2 separate regions of the Homo sapiens genome follow, and region 2 is linked to region 1. Evidence: promoter capture Hi-C in human tissues and cell types (Jung and others, 2019). All regions are on one chromosome and are shown on one strand. Each heading gives the region's core, a stretch centred on a gene start or on the middle of the fragment in contact. The rest is flanking DNA. Distances are from core to core; before and after follow the strand shown. Region 1 holds the start of MRPS2 (mitochondrial ribosomal protein S2). Region 2 overlaps RXRA (retinoid X receptor alpha).

The links. The method cuts DNA at HindIII sites, captures the fragments that hold promoters and counts their contacts. A contact is called where the count stands out against the background at its distance.
Region 2: a contact is called between a fragment that was not itself captured here and the fragment with the promoter of MRPS2 in region 1, in 1 of the 25 tissues and cell types used here (dorsolateral prefrontal cortex).

What each region holds. Positions count from the first base shown.
Region 1 is chr9:135,499,271-135,502,831 of GRCh38, forward strand. It overlaps MRPS2 (mitochondrial ribosomal protein S2), which reads left to right and starts at 1,412. Exons shown (of 4, transcript NM_016034.5): 1 at 1,412-1,483; 2 at 1,728-1,853; 3 at 2,574-2,703. The coding sequence starts at 1,441. It overlaps PIERCE1 (piercer of microtubule wall 1), which reads right to left and starts at 599. Exons shown (of 3, transcript NM_001048265.2): 1 at 439-599. The coding sequence starts at 581. RefSeq lists silencers at 702-871, 1,142-1,311, 1,522-1,681 and an enhancer at 1,637-2,261. The HindIII fragment of the contact is 18,925 bases long and covers 1-3,561 here.
Region 2 is chr9:134,406,250-134,409,810 of GRCh38, forward strand. RXRA (retinoid X receptor alpha) reads left to right here. Exons shown (of 10, transcript NM_002957.6): 3 at 1,900-2,050; 4 at 2,691-2,870. Among named protein-coding and RNA genes, the nearest start is that of MIR4669, 29 kb to the left of the region's middle. RefSeq lists enhancers at 536-1,005, 807-1,619, 1,620-2,432, 2,433-3,244. The HindIII fragment of the contact is 8,028 bases long and covers 1-3,561 here.

The DNA.
Region 1 (3,561 bases), core at 162-2,661:
AGCACGGCAAGATGTTTGCACCTGCCTACAGGAATTGAGTTTCTTACTACTTCTTAGCCTGCAATGCCCTGTGGCAGCTCAGAGCTGGCTGAGTCTACAGCAAGACAGTGGAGGTGCTGCTGTGCTCACGCCCCGCAGCGGAGTTTCAGGGTAGAGAGGAGAGGAGACTCACCCGACACAAATCAGTGGAGCTGAGACCACAACTGGGCTTTCTCCCCCCACGGCCCTGCCCCCCACTGCCCTTATCCCCACTTCCTTGTATGAGGCTCTAGGGAGCACGGTCGCCGCTCACTGGCGGGCGATGACAGCGCGGGCCCCGGATGACCACTCGATCTTCTTGATTTCTGTAGCTAGGACCTTGGGGGTCTTGCGGGGTCTCTCACACACGGGGCTATCGAGCAGTGGACGCCAGGACCAGGCGGGCCCCAGCTTCCTCACCTGTAGCCCCGGAACCACCCCGGGTTGTTGAACCTGCCCGGCAGGTCCGCGCTCACGCGGTAGTAGTCGCTGGTCCTCTCCGGCGGGGCCGTGGCCTTGGGCGCCACAGGCTCCGCGCACGCTCTGGGGCATTCCTCAGCCATTGTGCCTGGAGGAGAAGCGGGACTCGGCGGCGTCCTGTTGCCAAGCGACGGCCAGGTCACGTGACTGGGGAGCGAGCGGAGGGGCCTTAAAGGCGCCGCGCGTGGGCCGGGTTCCTCTGCGGGTGGGTCCGGAACCTGCCGGGCGACTCCCCAAGGGCCGGGAAGGTCGGGACGGCGAGAGATTCCCTGCTGGGACCGTCGTGTGAGGCAGCCCCAGGCCCCCAGCCACCCGCGGGGGGACCGGGCCACCCCAGCATCAGGGCGTGGACTCCCGGGCGAAAGAAACCCCAGGGCCTGGGACCCCGCCAGCCGGGTGACGGGGTTTAAGCACTGCAGGTCCACTCGGCAGGCAACGATTGGACTTTTGCTGTCCAATGTACTCCAGGGATGCTATGCCCCCCAGCACCCCGAGTCTAAATTGAGACCCGAGATCTGGCTAACTTTATGAAATTCTCCTAAGCCAAATATCGTTTAAATATTACAAACAGTTTTGGAGAGCGAGAGGTTGCGCAGGACGTGGTTCACAGCTCACTTGGCGGGAGGCGAGGGTCCCCATCGCCCAGCGGGCTTCCCCAAGGGTCAGGGGCCTCCCGGGCTGGCCGGTCCCATTAGCAGGGCGGGGCGAGCTGCAGGGCGAGGACCGTGGCTCCACTCCCCGCCCGAGACTCTCAAGCCCAGGACCCCGGGCCCTGACCCCTCGCGTGCCCCGCCCCCGCAGGGAGGTCCCAGCCGCCTGGGGACAGCGCTGTGGCTCCTCCGGGCCTGTAGGCGGCACTGCGGCCCCGCGCGGATGGCGACGGAAGGGGAGGCCGCTCGGCCTGGCCTGGAGGGAGACCTCGCTCTGCCCCGCGTCCCAGCCATGGCGACATCCTCGGCCGCGCTGCCCCGAATACTCGGCGCGGGTGAGCGCGCGCTTGCGGGACCCTGGGGAGGAGCATGCGAGGAGGATGCGGAGGGGCGCGGGGACCCGATGGAGCGGCGGGGACGTGGAGGGGACCCGGGGCGAGCGCGGAGGGGACTCGGGGAGGGCGCGGGGACGCGGAGGGGACCCGTTAGGGACGCGGAGGGGCCCGTTGGGGATGCGGTGGGGAGCGGGCGTGGTGCATTCGGGACTCGGCGCCAGGACCTCTATCTACTTCCCCCCAGGTGCCCGGGCCCCGTCGCGCTGGTTGGGCTTTCTCGGGAAGGCGACCCCCCGGCCTGCTCGGCCGAGCCGCAGGACGCTTGGAAGCGCGACGGCCCTTATGATCCGCGAGTCGGAGGACAGCACCGGTAACACTGGGCGCCCAGCCGAGTTGGGTGGGAACGAGGAGAGGCCGGCAGCCGCGGGGGATGCGAACCCTAGAGGGGCCTGGGCGCTGCACGCGGTCGAAACTGCGCGCTCCGCTGGGCTCCTCCCACTCCCGTGCTCGCCGCCGCTCGGTCCTGCCTGACGTAGCACAGCGGGCTGAGGCCACCGCCTCACCATGGATAGGGTGAGAGGGAGCGGGCGGGCCAGTGGTTAGCACAGGCTTCGCTCCCTAGGGGGGTGTCACTGGACCACCGAGGCCCGGAGCCCCGAGCTCGCCCAGGCGGGCCCAAGTGACCTGGGGGCACTGGGCTTGGAGTCTGCCCACCTTGCTGGACTCCTGATGGGGACTTTCTGGCTGGCCACCTGAGACCACAAGGCGGGGAGGTGCCAGAAAGACCTGAGCAACCCGCTGGGCCCCTCTCTTTTTCTCCTCTGTCTTCCAAGTAAGACCAAGGGACGGGGTTGACCAGGTTCGACCAGGCTTACCCAGGAGCAAGGTCGGGATCAGAACCTGGCTCCAGCCCTCTGTTTCCTGAAAAGGTCCCTGTGCTTCCAGGTCTTTCCTGGGGCTGCTGGGCTCCCGGCTCCCCACCTCGGTGTCACAGAAGGCACTTGGGAGCAGGGGTGGGCGGGAACTGCGCTCTGCCTGTCTCTGCTGCCACCGGTGGGAGACGCAGCGTCGCTCCTCCTCCCTGCCGTAGATTTCAACGACAAGATTTTGAATGAGCCCCTCAAGCACTCTGACTTCTTCAATGTCAAGGAACTGTTTTCCGTGAGAAGCCTCTTCGATGCCCGAGTCCATCTGGGACACAAAGCTGGCTGTCGGCACAGGTAGGTGACACCCCCATCTGAGCCCGGGGCGGTTCCCAGGAGGAACCTGGGACCTGCTCTGGTTCTAGGGCCACTTTTGAACTGGCCTATGTCAGTTTTAGGTGATTACAGCCCCATCCTCCTCCACATGGGAATACAGAGCCCCACAGAGAAGCAGGAGTTTATTCCTCAGCTTGGCGGACGCTCTTGTGTGCCTTGGTGTGGCGCTCACAGCCCTTGATAGGGCAGGCCTGCTGGGGGTTGCAGGACTCCACGGGTTCAGAAATGGAAAGGCTGAGGGCAGAACCTGTAAGGTTGGTCCCCCCGGATCGGGCTGGGCCTTCTGGGCTGCGGGGAGGAGGAATGACTGGTCCTGTATTCTCACATGGTCATTTTGACTGCTGTGGGGGGAGGGGATGGGAGGGGCAGGTGGGAGGCCAGGGAGGAGGTTGGTGTGGGCGTTCAGGGTGAAGGTGGCGGGGCTTAAATCGCAGTAGCGGAAGAGCTGGAGCAGCAGGTGGACATGAGGCAGCAGGGCAGAGCCAGTGGGCCTTGGGCTGGGGTGGGAGGTGGCTGGGGCCGAAGGGATCAAACACCTGCTCTTCGGGTGGAGCCTGGTACTGGTTACTGAGATGGTGAAAACCAGGGGAGACCTGGGGGACATCACAAGCTTGGTTCCTACCAGGTATGAACCCTTTGCTGCCCCAGTGGAGAGGTCACACGGTTACCAGGAGGGATGGGCCTGGGCCCAGGGAGCCATCAGCATCGGGGGCTGGCAGGTGTTTCCAGAGCATCGGAAAAGGAGGTCCAAGGTGGAGCCCTGGGTGCTCCAGTGTTTGGAGTCAGTGAAGAGGGACAGCCGGGGGTAGGGGAGATGTG
Region 2 (3,561 bases), core at 631-3,130, 1.1 Mb before region 1:
TGAGTGCAGTGGCATGGACTTGTAATCCCAGCTACTCAGGAGGCTGAAGCAGGAGGATCAATTGGGCCTGGAAGTTTGAGGCTGCAGTGACTGTGATTGTGCCACTGTCCTCCAGCCTGGGCAACAGAGTGAGACCCTGTTTCGGAAAAAAAAAAAAAAAAAAAAGAGAAAAGAAGTAGGCACTAACATGGTTCCAGTTTTGCCGACGAGGAAACTCAGGCTCACAGTGATTAAATCATTTTCCGAATGTCACACGAGAACGTAGGAGGCAGGCAGAATCCGGAGCCAGGGATCCGCCTCTGGGGCCTCCAGTGCCTCCAAGCGAGACAGCCACTAGACCAGCGAGCCCTGGAGGGCTGGGCAGGGCCTTGTCCCCTGGTGCCTCCCGGAGCCCAGCACGGGGCAGGGCCAGCTGGGCACTTAGTTTGGACGAGCTCTGTCCCTCCAGGGGCTTCACTTTCGCCTTCTGCAGCGTGGGGGATCATGTGTGACCTTGGCCAGCCCCTGACCTCCCTGAGCCGCAGCCTCTGCATCTGGGACACCCAGGGTTTCCCATGCAGGGAGTGTCAAGTGTGGGTGCAAAGCCCAGGCACCGCACCCCTCTGCAGACGTCTGGGGCTTTCTCTTGCCCCTTCAGTTCCCTCCCTTCTCTGAGAAGCGCACCTGCTGCCTGTGGACATGAACACTGGGCATTTGGTGAGTCACACAGTGGCCACCCGCTTCTCCAGTGGGAGCTTCATGGCACCCCCACTGTGCTGAGTTGTCACGGGGGACCTCCTGGCCTCTCGCAGCCCACCTGAGTCCTGCAGGGACCAAGCATCCTTGTAAAGCCTCACAGCCCACCTGGGCAGATCGAGGAAGAACCTAGAAGCCAGAACAAGCTGGGGCTGGAAGACTCATTCCAGGCACCGAGGTCCATGTGAAAGGAGGCTTTGCGGTGGTTTCTGCTTTGCTTGCATTGAGCCTCAAACTCTTCCTGTCCCGTGAGAAGGGGGGATGGGATTTGGAGGCCTGAGGAAGGAAGGAGGGGAGCTTCCTGCGCACAAGCGGCGGCAGGGGTTTGCAGAAGTGGAGGCTGGGGGCTGCCTGGCCAAGCGCTTACCGCCCTGCGCAGCCAGGCTGGCTGGCAGGCTGCAGCGGGAAGCGCCTGTGGGTCCTCGGCGCTGACTGCAGAGCTGGGTGGAGGCAGCGGAACCAAAACTGCTGTGTCACTGCACGCTGCAGCTGTTGCCAGGGTGACCGGGTGAGTTTCCCACGCTTGCCCGGGCGGCAGCGTGCGGGCCGGCGGGTGGGGCGGAGGGGTGTGCAGAGAGGCCAGTGGTGTCGTGCCACCCGATGCCCGGGGGTGTCCACTCCCCTCTCCTGGGTCACGTGACCAGGGCCCCTGCCCTGCGGTGTTGTGGGGTGTATGTGTGGTTCTTGGGGGGGTCCCCAGCCCTCCTCCGTCCTGGGAACTGGGCTTCGGCGTCCTCATGTGTGGGTTGGGACCCCCCAGAGTGCCTGCCTCATGGAGTGTCCGGGGGCACCCAGCGGGGCTGGGCACTGCCAGGGGCTCAGTAATGAGAGGCAGCTCTCATTTAGGTGGGCAGCGGGCAGGGGGTTGCAAGCAGGGACCGCCCATGTGTTGGGGGGGGTGTTGAAGGTCCTTTTCCACAGAGGCCTGGGGTCTGCTGCGGGCGAGTCCTGAGGTTGCCACAGCCTCTGCTGGCCTTGCTGAGCAAGCACAGTGGCCCCGCTGCTCCGGAGCAGCGTGGCGGGTGGGGGGCACGGCCCTCTCTAGCCTCGGTGTCTGTGTGTGAAGTTGGGGGTACAGCTGCGCCATCCTTGCTGCAGGGCCGTGGGGGACATAGGGACAAACCTGGTGTACACCCCGCTGACTGCTGTGGTTGCCCCCCCCAGCTCAGCTCACCTATGAACCCCGTCAGCAGCAGCGAGGACATCAAGCCCCCCCTGGGCCTCAATGGCGTCCTCAAGGTCCCCGCCCACCCCTCAGGAAACATGGCTTCCTTCACCAAGCACATCTGCGCCATCTGCGGGGACCGCTCCTCAGGTACCGCTGCTGTGGGGGCCAGGGGCTGGTGGGACAGGGTTGTCAGGCCATTGCAGGGTCTGGAGGCCTCCCCAAATCACCCTCCTGTGGGCCAAGCAGGACCCAAGGCCAGGGTGCAGGGAGGCAGGTGCCTGGGCCATGCCCCACTCCCAGGGCTCCGCGAGGCCATTCCAGGGTTCTCACGTCTGTGGGACAGTGAGTGTTGGGTGGGGTGGGGCACAGGGCAGCCTGAGGCTTCCGGAGAGGAGGTGGCTGCTGATGGCAAGGTCAGCATGGGGGCAGCCAGTGCTGCGCCTCCTCCCTTGGCTGGGTCTGGGCAAGGGGCCCGTGTTGTGCCACTGACCCCCAACGGCCTGAGAGGGAAGAACGGGCTGCACAGTGCAGACACAGAGCAGGTGACTTGCCTGGGGCCCTGGTCCCTGGTGGGCTGGGATTTGTCCCTGCCCCACTCCTAAGCTGTCCTCGGAGGAGCAGAGAGAGTGAGGCTGGGGCCCAGTCTGAGCCCAGGCAGGGGTCTGGAGACCAGCAGGTCCCTTTCTGAGGCCTGGCCCGCCAGCTGGTAGTGGCGGCGTTGGATGGGGGGTGGGCTCCCTGCCGGGGCGGTGGGTGCTCCCCAGCCCTGCTCTGCCCTGTCCCGCAGGCAAGCACTATGGAGTGTACAGCTGCGAGGGGTGCAAGGGCTTCTTCAAGCGGACGGTGCGCAAGGACCTGACCTACACCTGCCGCGACAACAAGGACTGCCTGATTGACAAGCGGCAGCGGAACCGGTGCCAGTACTGCCGCTACCAGAAGTGCCTGGCCATGGGCATGAAGCGGGAAGGTAGGCCACGGCGTCGGGTGGGGGCGCGGGCAGGTGTTGGACAAACAGTGGGGCCCGGGCTTGTGCGTGGACACCCGAGATGGACAACAGGGAGTGAGTGGCCTGGACAGAAGCATGGCAAGGCCAAGGCAGGAGTGGGGGCGGGGCCCAGCGCGTGGGCACACGTGCGGCCCAGAGCGTGGGCACACATGGGTCCTGGGCGGCATGTTCTGGCTGGCGTTGGCTGTCCGGTGAGGGGATGGTCAAGGAGACCCTCAGGTGGCACTGCTTAGGTTGGAGAGGTGGAGCGGGGGCATCTTCTGAGCTGTTGGATGCCAGGGGTGGTCCCGGGCCAGCTTCCTCCCGAGGCCAACTCTGTGGCACCCCGCAGGGCCGCCGGATGGCCCCCAGGCTCTTGGAGCAGTTCCTCCTTTCCTTTTGTTTTTGTGCTCGTCTTATTAACAAATCTGTGTCGGGGCGGTTTGCAGGGAAGTCCCTCCCCCGATGTCACCAAAATTGTCAAGTCATCCAGCCAGACCTGGGTCGGAGTCCCGGGCCCCACAGGCACTGTGACTTCCCAGTCCTGGCTGGCTGTAGTCCTCAGTTTCCCCATCTGTCACATCCCCTTTCCCTCTCAGGTTTGGCGATTCCTGGCCTCTTAGTGGGTCCCTGGGTCATGGTTTGCACACACGTTTGGGGGTGTGCCTCAGTT